Regions from separate parts of the Homo sapiens genome. Here region 1 is linked to region 2. Evidence: promoter capture Hi-C in human tissues and cell types (Jung and others, 2019). All regions are on one chromosome and are shown on one strand. The core of a region is centred on a gene start or on the middle of the fragment in contact, and the rest is flanking DNA. Distances in the headings are between cores, read along the strand shown. Region 1 overlaps CR1L (complement C3b/C4b receptor 1 like). Region 2 holds the start of YOD1 (YOD1 deubiquitinase).

Region 1 (5,105 bases), core at 1,308-3,807, 620 kb after region 2:
TAGTCATCAGAGAAATACAAAATAAAACCAGAGAGAGATATCACCTCACCCTAGTTATCAGAGCTCTTATCAAAAAGATAAAAGATAACAAATGCTGCTGAGGATGTGGAAAATAGAGACCTCTTATACACTGTTAGGGAATCCAAATTAATATGGCCATTATGGGAAATAGTATGGAGGTTTCTCAAAAAATTAAAAGCAGAACTACCATATGATCCAGCAATCCCACTACTGGGTATATACCCAAAAGAAAGGAAACCAGTATGATGAAAAGATATCTGCACTCTCACATTCAATGATGCACTATTCACAATAGCCAAGGTATGGAATCAACCCAAGTGTTCACCAATGGACGAATGGATAAATAAAATGTGGTATATATACACAAGGGAATACTATTCAGCCATAAGAAAGAATGAAATCCTATCATTTGCAGCAACATGGATGAATCTAGGGGATATTATATTAAATGAAGTAAATCAGGCACAGAAAGACAAATCCTGTATGATATCAGTCATGTGCAATCTAAAAAAGCTCATCTCATAGAAGTAGAGAGTAGAATACTGGTTACCAGAGGTTGGGGTAGGGAGAGACAATGGGAGATGGAGAGAGATTGGTTAAAGGGCACAGGGTCACAGATACATAAGAATAAATTCATCCTTGAATACTTAACCCTCTGCCCTACATCTGTCACTCCTACATCCATATTCATTGCTAATCCTGGGGCTAACTCTTGATTGCTTTCTTCTCACTACTAACCTTAAGAAAGGAAGTAACCAAAATCCAATACATGAGCAACTGTTCATTCCATCTCCAATATCTTTGTTAATTGTCCACTTTATCCACCCAGTCAGGGCCACCATCAAACCTCACTTGGATGTCAGCAAAAGCTCCCTGGCTGGTCTCCCCTCTCCATTATTGCTTTAATCTAGTCTCCATACTATACACAGATTTACATTTTTTGAATATATATCTAATTGTCCTTCCCTTTTTAAAAATCTTACAATGGCATGACATCTCAATTCACGATAAGGAAATTGGTTCTTCACATTCCCTGTGCACTGTACACATCGCCTGCAATTGCCCTTCAACACAGAGAGCAGGCATTTCATTAGCTGACCTTCCCACACACATTCTTGCAAAGAGGAAAAGTCAAGCAGGGTGTTTGGAGGTGAGTTGCCATCATCCACCGCCTTTGTCTGGAAGGAAGCGCAGGGCCTCACACGCGGGATCCATCGGAAGCCCAAGCATTGTCAAGCTCTGCTGCTGCACCTGGGTCAGCAAGGTGGGCTCTGCCAGCGAAACTCGTTAGAAACAATGCAAATGGGGAGTAAACATGGCCTTGCCCATGAAGGGGAAGCTGGTCAAAAGCATTTTGTCCCGGAACCCCGCAGCCCTCCCCATGCTCTGGGCGCGGAGCACAAGGATTGGTCACTCCTCTTTGCACTGCGCTTTTCCTCTTATTTCAGTTTTCTTCGAGATCAAATCTGGTTTGTAGATGTGCTTCGGGAGGATGGGGGTCTCTTCTCCGAGAAGCCGGGAGCCTGTTGGGCAGCCGGCGCCCGGTCTCCCCTTCTGCTGCGGAGGATCCCTGCTGGCGGTCGTGGTGCTGCTCGCGCTGCCGGTGGCCTGGGGTGAAACGCTGGGGGGCGTGGGGAGGCGCCCGGGCTGACGAGGCACCCAGGGCCCCGCAGAGAACTCGCGTGCCGCGCTGGGCTGCGCTGCTCTGCGCGCCCGGGTCCAAAGGCAGCGCGATGGGTGGGCTGAGCGCGCTACCTGGCAGGGCGGCGGGTCTGGGATCCTTCTGCGCACTGGAGACCCTCGCTGCCTCTAGGTAAGCGTGGAGTTCCCACGTGCAGGGGCTTAAGTCGTGACGAGCGCAGTGGAAGGCGCAGATGCTGAGCGGGTGCCGCACGAAATTCCTTGCCTTTGTGTATTCACAGCCTCGGCTGGCTATAGCCGAGCGTGGCGTCGATCCTAGCGAAACGGGACTTGGGGATCCGACAAACCTGAGTTCTGGTCCTAGAAACTTAACTGTGAGGCAAGTTAGCACACCTAAGTCTGTTTGCTCTTCTGTAAAATGGGGACACTGGTATCTCTGCATTGTGGAGTTGCTGCCTCAGTGGCATAAAGCCTGTCGAGTATCTAACACAGGGCCTGTCCCCGAGTCCATTTCTATCCCCCAACCGTTACCTCTGCACTTTGCTCCCAGTGGTGTTTAGACAAGCAGTCCTAGGGATGTCCTGCATGGAACTGTCCTCGTCCCCTACCCCAAGCCACCACCGCCATCATCATGATGCACTTGATTGACAGCATACTTTAAGACAGATGCATGCCAGGCACTTGGGGATTAGAAGAGCAAGGGAAGCCCCAGAACATGCAATGTAACCGCTGCAGGTAGAAGGGACAGTAGATATGTTTACAATTTGCATTTTAGTGATGTGTTTAGTACAAAATAAAGCCTATTATAACTACTATGGAAATTTTGAGGCCACATCTCTTCCTTTTTTTAACTTCAAGTAGGTAAACATCTTCAGTTAGAACCCTTCTATTATTAGTTTTGGGCTCCCCAGAAGTCTTCTTGGTTGCCTAGACTCACTGGCAACATCTCACTTGAAGTGACAGTTTTGGTTGTTTTGGTCCTGTCTCTTCCTGACAACTCAGGGTTCGTCCTTCTCTGCCACTAGACGTTTTGCATTCATTATTTGAGTGTTCCTTCTTCTCTAAAAGAGTAAGGGGAAAAGAAAACCAAGTTCCCCCAAGAGTTGTTATTAATATTTGATCTCCTTAGGCACCAGAAAGTAACCTGTCTAGTGAAGAGATATGATAAAACTTACAATTTTATTTTTAGGAGAGAAGCATGCCCAGTAAGTTAAGCAATCTGTTGTCAGTGCTTACTGAGGTTCTCACAATAACCTCCAAATGTGAAACAGCCTAAACTAAACTACCTAGAAATTTTGTTGCTGGAGTAATTTCAATTTTAAAATGCTTATGGATGCTTCCGGTGTGCACAGTCCTTTGGAATTTAAAAGAAATGTAAGAGAAAGAGCTATGCTCCCAAGGTGTATGCATATAGAAGTAGGTGGTGGAGTTTTATGAAATCTACTTTTTAGGAAGCCAGTGTTCTGGTTTTTCCAGACTCTGCTACTTACCAACTGGGGCTGTGGACCCAGCAACTTAAGTCACATCACTGACCTTCAGTGTCCACGTGTATAAAATGAGCATGACTGACATCCTGATTTCTGAGAGAGGTATTTTGAAAATCAGGTGGGGTAGTGCATGTGACAGCGTTTTGTAATCTGAAAACCCTCATGCATGTCTGAAAAACCATGACTAAGCAGTCGTGCAAGACTGCAGGATCACTGAAAAGGGAGAAATCTCAACTCCTATGATCAGGAAAGGGTGAGGGAAAAGAGTATGACTTTACTAGCACTTGAAGAGTGAATCCAGAAACAGGTTGCATAGGACAGTTTATGGGAATATTTATATATAAAAAATAACAGAGGAACTAGGATTGTTTTGTCATTAGAGGGTACTCCTACTACCCATGAAGTGGTATGGTGCTATTTGAAAGAGAACTTAGATTAGCTGCAAATAGATATTGCAAACTTAGGGCAACTACTGAAAAAAGTGAAAAAAAGAAGTACAATTGATATGCCAGTAAGGAAGAGTGAATTGCATCATATAAAATGCTCAGTTAAAACAATAAACGGGGCCAGGCGCAGTGGCTCACACCTATAATCCCAGCACTTTAGGAGGCAGGGTAGATAACTTGAGGTCAGGACTTTGAGACCAGCCTGGCCAACATGGTGAATACCCATTTCTACAAAAATCCAAAAATTAGCTGGGCATGATGGTGGGTGCCTGTAATCCCAGCTACTCAGGAGGCTGAGGCAGGAGAATCTCTTGAACCTGGGAGGCAGAGGTTGCAGTGAGCCGAGATCATGCCACTACACTCCAGCCTGGGCGAAAGAGTGAGACTCTGTCTCAAAAATAAAAATAAAATAAAATAAAGGTCAGGAAAAGAATGCAAGACAAAAAATAGAAACAGAGAACAAGAGAAGAAAGACAACAAATAGAAACAAGTAACATATTAAACCAACTATATCAACCATCATTTTGAGTGTCAATGATCTAAAGGCACCAATTGAAACAGATCATCAGAGTCGATCAACAAACAAAACTCAACTATATATTGTGTACTCCCTATAAGACCATTTTAAATATAGACAATATATATTAAAAGTAAATGGGTAAAGATATACCATGCTAATGCTAGTCACAGAAAGCAGGAGTAGCTGTGTTAATTTCAAACACAGCAGACTTCAGACGAAGGAAAATTATTAGGAATAAAGAGGGTCATCATATAATGATAAAGGGGCTAATTCTCCAAGAAGGCATAACAATATCTAATATGTATCCATCTGACAGAGAAACAAAATATGTGGGGCAAAGCTGATAGAACTGCAAGGAGAAATAGATGAATGCACTATCATAGTTGGAGACTTCAGCACCTTTATCTTTTCTGATATCAGAAAAGATAAAGGTGCTGAAGTCTCTTTATCAGAAATGGGCAGATTCAGCAGGCAGAAAATCCATAAGGACATACTTGAACTCAACAGCACCATCAATCCACTTGGATATAATTGACATATACAGACGACTTCATCCAACAACAGCAAAAGACATTCTCTGGCTCACATTCATGGGGATAGACCACATTGTGAGCCATAAAAATAGTATGCTAATTAAGCTTTACCAGGGAGTGTTTAACATAGGGTAGACTCTGGCGCCCTCACATGGTCCTCATGTAGGATCTGATTTGGTTTTCCCTGCTAGGTAAAGGTGCAAGATAGAAAGAAGGGTAATTCCAATTTGCTTTCTGTGCTTTGTGATGTATTCTGGTTTACATATGCTCGGATGAGTAGATGTATGATTTATATTATCTACTGTTATCTAAAATAAACTTCACATTCGGACAGGCAACATCAAAACTGTCCTACACAGAAATACTGGGTGAAGATCACTTAATAAGACGAACTCCAGAAAACAAGAAAATGGCAGAGTTGACAATCCCTCTCACCCTCCCTGCAAAGACACATGTA
Region 2 (4,966 bases), core at 973-3,472:
AGGTAGTAGGCTTCAACCCTCATTCATGCATAGGTCACACTTCTCCAAAGTTGGTATGGCCTGTCTCCTTGGCATGTTCCCTTGCTTCTGCTTGTCCAGTTAATCCTTTCTGACATACCATGCATCTCAGGGTGAAGCGGTTGACATCAGTAAACTGTCTCCTTCTTCTAGCTTCATCTGCTAATTCCAGTGCTTGTACAAGAACAATATCATCATTAGAGGAGAAAATGGTCAGAGGAGGTGTATCTGGATCAGGGAAGTTACGCTGAAGTGGATCATAGTGGATGCCATCATAAATAAGCAGAACCCTTTTGGTATATCCTGCATCTTCCCCAAAACGATCAATTCTTACTGTCTGTGTATCCACTACACATATTTCACATTGGTAAAACTTGGACAAAATCGATATCTCTATTGCTCCTCCCCAAGTGTCATCCCTTTTGATCCAGTCACAGTACTCTTGATTTGTTTTTCCCAGTATTGCCTCACTATAGAAGTCTGGATCGCTTGCTACAATTTGTGCTATGAGGCGTCTCATCTCAGGGGCACAAGCTGGATTCAAGACTCCTCCTTCGACGACATAGTACACACTAGTAAAGAGGCAAGAGTTGTCTGCTGGGACCACGGTTCTGGTAAGCACAGGCAAAGTTTCCCTGACGTAACTAGAAGCACCACGTTTAGTAAATGCAGGTGAACTTCTGGGCCTGGTTTGGTCTTCTTCAATGATCAGCATGTCACCTGTTAAAAATAAAACAAATCCCGATCTGCAAAGAAATTACAGAAGAAACCGAGTGTTCTCTAGCCAAGTCTGTAAATTACAAACTGAAGGAGTTAAAGCATAAACTGGGGTTACTAAGGAGAATACAGTTTTGCAAGTAAGTTACCAGTAAGAATCTTTGTTCACTGAATTTTCATAAAGATGAAAAAAGAACAAAAAACACTTGAGGTTGCATCCCAATTTAGTGAAGGGGTCTGGAGTAAACAACTTCAAGCTTACCTAAAAAGATACATTTCAAAAACAAAATTTCCTTTCCTTATACAGTATTTTACAGAAGGTGCTCACTACAGAGTAGGCCGCTAGGGGGTTCTCCTTCTCCGGAAACTTATCTACTCTAGAGTGTTTACAACATCCTTGATACAGCAACTGAAAGCTTTTAATTATAAACACTGATGTTCAAGTTTTGATATGGCACAGAAATAACTGCTGCTGGTTAGAAATTGAAAGAGCTTTCAGTGGGTGTTTTAAAAGCTAACTCGAAAATGAGTATGCCTGTCAAACGAAGTATCTACGAAGGGGACTGCAAAAATGAATCAAGAAAAAAAAAATCCTGCACCCTTGAGATCTCATCGGTGATATAGGGAAAAAGAGACATAAGGACAGAGAAAATAGGCCCTACTTTATATTTTTGTGGACGCCGAGGGAAAACAAAATGGGATAGTTTCAAAGCCGACCAGAAAGCGGAATGGGGAAGGGGGTCTTCAAGGCTTTGGGTTCCCTTTCAACCCTGTGTCAAGACAAGGAGTTGCTAGACACTTGCCCTGGCCCCCGTCAGCATTCTCTGTTCTTTGATCTATCCTCGCCCCTGGCCTCAAAGCCCCCCCGCCGACTCACAGCCACCTTGCCTTGACTGGTGTTTTGTTCTCTCTCACGCCCCTCTCCATCCTCCCGGGACTTTCCCTGGCCCCAGCCCTGATTCCTTACCAGATTGGATGGGCAAGTCTTCCAGAATGGTATCCCCATTGCTGAGATCCAGGCACTCGGGAGGGTATCCGACGAGGATTCGCTGACCGCCGGGGGCGATCCCGGTGATGGCGGCAATTTGGCCCTGGAGTTCCCGCACCCGGGTCCGGCTGGACAGCCCCTGCAAAACATGGGTGCCGTCCTTGGCCTTGCAGCGGAGCCGCCACATCGTGTCGGTCCGGCTGCCCACAGGCCAGGCACCCGCGGGGCCAGCTTTGGTCCCGGCAGCCTGTTGGGAGACGCCGCCGGGGAAACCAGGCGCCGGGTGGACTCCAAAATGGCGACCTTTAGCGGGGCCAAACATCGCGAGAAGTTGCGGGTGGTTGCAGTTATCGCGACGCTTCGGTGCGGCTTCTGCCTTAGTACCTTAGCAAGCGCGAACTCTTTTAAAGTGACAACTGATTTTTCCCCCACCCTCAGAACGAAGATGTAAACCTCCGTATTCCTAAAGGACAACGGGTCTTGCTACCTATAGAGCGAGTGAGGTGCCCTCCGCGTGGGTAGCATATATGCTCAAGAAAAGAGGGCGGGGGAAGGAGTTCCTGAATGAAGGTCTGGAGATTGGAATGTGACCTTGCACTTAGTGAGGTCGGAAATTATTAAATTGGGGCTTCCACACTACACCCAGACTACACCAGGAGAAACAGAATCATAGTTCACAACGCAAACGAATGCCAGGAATGGTCAGTGAGTCAAAGGACCAGTCAAAAACAATCACACTTGTGACTAGACTCGTGGCTGCATTAAACATTGACTCATTGGGGTTCCAGGGGCCAAAAGACTGGCCTTTCTGCCTCCCTGGGACTGTGCTTGAAAACGTCTATTTGCCACTTCAGAAAGCACAGTATGAGGTCAGCATCTGGGCCCAGGGCAGCTGCCTCATTCAGGTGGTGGCAGTGTAAGGAGGAGTCGTGTAACGCGTGTCATCAGATTCCAGTTCAGTTCCTGGGCATACAAATATGAAGACTTCATTCCTGCCTTCATTGTAACAAGTATTCATTGCAGTTGGGAGACAGGGTGGGGTGTGAGACACACAGCCACTGAATTTCAAAGCAACGTGATAATGCTAGATTATCTGTACCTTTTCAAACGTGTATGCCTAGAACCCAGGACTGTGCCTCGCAAATAAAAAGTGTTCAACAAATACTGGCTGAATGAATAAAGACAGAGTTGTATAGACATAGAGAGGGCAACTAGAGCACTCTGGGAGTTGTAAAAAGCCTTAAAGAGGAGATAACTGTTTGAACTTTTGGAAGAATTAGTTTAATTCCCAGGCGAAGGAGGAATAAAGACATCCCTGAATTTATATCTCTCTTTTCCAAGAAATCCATACTCATTGTTCTTTATCCAGCCGGGATTCAGACAGCAAGTCCCACTTGCCAAGAGTGGGTTTATCAAGCATCAAACGGGCCCGCTGGGGCAACTATGAAAAGTGTAGTTCACTTGGTGCAAACTCACCTCCACTGTAAAAGACTTTGCTTCTGAATAAATTATATGTAATGTTTCCATCTTTTCACATCTTTCATGACTCAATTTTTTTTTGCTGGTGCAATTTTCCTCCTTGGTTCTTCAAGACGACTGCAACGGATGATACAGCCTGGGTTAGGGGGTAGGTAGGAGGGAAGGTAGGAGTGGTTAGAAGTCCACCGGGGTGGCCGGGCGCAGTGGCTCACACCTGTAATCCCAGCACTTTGGGAGGCCGAGGCGGGTGAATCACCCGAGGTCAGAAGTTCGAGACCAGCCTCATCAATATGGAGAAACCCCGTCTCTACTAAAAATACAAAATTAGCTGGGCGTGGTGGTCCATGCCTTTAATTCTAGATACTGGGAGGCAGGAGAATCGCTTGAACACGGGAGGCAAAAGTTGCGGTGCCAAGGTCGTGCCATTGCACTCCAGCCTGGGCAACAAGAGCAAAACTCCATCTCAAAAAACAAAAACCAAACCAAACCAAAACAAAAAAAACTCCAATGGGGTGTATGGGTGGGTCCAGGGAAGCTTCTGGTTCAACGATGAGAGTGGTTGATTTTCTTAGGTCACAGCGTCTGACCTGTGGAGCCGGGTATGTATACACCCTAAGGCATAATTAGCTCAAGTGTTGTGGTAGTTTATTCTAGCAAAAACATCTTTAAAGCTTACGTTCCCATTTATGGATCTAATGAGGTTCTGCTGGGATTCAGGAATGAGAGCGTTAATCTTTGCAGCATTTTCTCGTCACCCGGCACACCCGCTCTCAAGACGCCTACCGAATAGTCTACTCTCGCGAGAGTCAGAAAAAAGTCAAGCTTTTTATTAACACCGCCCCCAGCCCTATTAGTTACCAAGCAACAGTGCCACCAGGCTCCTCGGCGCTGGGAAACTCAGGAGCTTGTGATCTCTCTGGTTCCGACTTCCAGCCGCCTTCCCGAGCCAGTTAGGCGATTGCGACCCTGCCCCGCCCCCTGGGTCCTGCAGGCGCCCGATTGGTGGATGATTCTCTCCAGGTGAGGACCTACGCGCGAGGGGGCGGGGCCAGACGGGCTCACATGATTTGCCGGCGACTGTAGCGCCGGTCCCGGCCACAAGCTGTCGGCTCGGTTCGGTCGCGTTACAGGGCAGGCGCCGGGGCCAAGGCAGGGAGGGATCTTAGGAGAGATCGTAGGGTGAGCCACAGCTGCGCAGCCCCGGGTAGGGTCTAGCGGGGCGGGATGTGGGGGCTGCGTGCCCCCGGATGAAGTGCGGGGAGAGGTGCTGGTCCCCAGGCATGGCAGGCAGCGCGGACGTTCTGGGACCGGGAGCCACAGTCTGTGTTTGGGTTGGAGGATTTGTGTGGTCAGTAAAGGAATCGTGTAAGGCTCTTGAAGGCGCAGGATCTTCCGTCCTCACCAGCCCCCTGTTGTCTGAATTGGGGGCATGAGCTCAGGACTTTCCCACTCCAGTTTGAATCAGGGCTTACCCCTCTTCCTGAGGTGACCTTGGGGAAGTCATTTACCACCTCAGCGCTCCGGCGTTCTTTAGACTGAGTCCCGGGGGTAACTAGGGAGAGGGTGCGGAGCAGGGCTTGAGAATGCACTAGAGGAGAAATGACGACGTGCTAGGGCTGTCTTGGGGTCCAGTTACTGTTTTTCCTTCAGGGAATATGTTCGAGATTTTCCCACGTCCCTCACTTTTTTCTTTTCTTTCTTTCTTTTTCATTTTTCATTTTTTTTTTTTTTTTTTTTGACAGAGTCTCGCTCTGTCGCTAGGCT

What was found. Contacts are between HindIII fragments. The study calls those that stand out against the background at their distance.
Region 1: a fragment that was not itself captured here is called in contact with the fragment with the promoter of YOD1 in region 2 in 1 of the 25 tissues and cell types used here (hippocampus).

Annotation. Positions count from the first base shown.
Region 1 is chr1:207,667,932-207,673,036 of GRCh38, forward strand. The region is part of intron 1 of CR1L (complement C3b/C4b receptor 1 like); the gene reads left to right. Among named protein-coding and RNA genes, the nearest start is that of CR1L, 25 kb to the left of the region's middle. The HindIII fragment of the contact is 6,387 bases long and covers 1-5,105 here.
Region 2 is chr1:207,048,986-207,053,951 of GRCh38, forward strand. YOD1 (YOD1 deubiquitinase) reads right to left here and starts at 2,223. Exons shown (of 2, transcript NM_018566.4): 1 at 1,703-2,223; 2 at 1-738. The coding sequence starts at 2,045. The coding sequence ends at 35. PFKFB2 (6-phosphofructo-2-kinase/fructose-2,6-biphosphatase 2) reads left to right here and starts at 4,290. Exons shown (of 15, transcript NM_006212.2): 1 at 4,290-4,381. RefSeq lists enhancers at 1,787-2,357, 3,581-4,220. The HindIII fragment of the contact is 3,829 bases long and covers 1-2,444 here.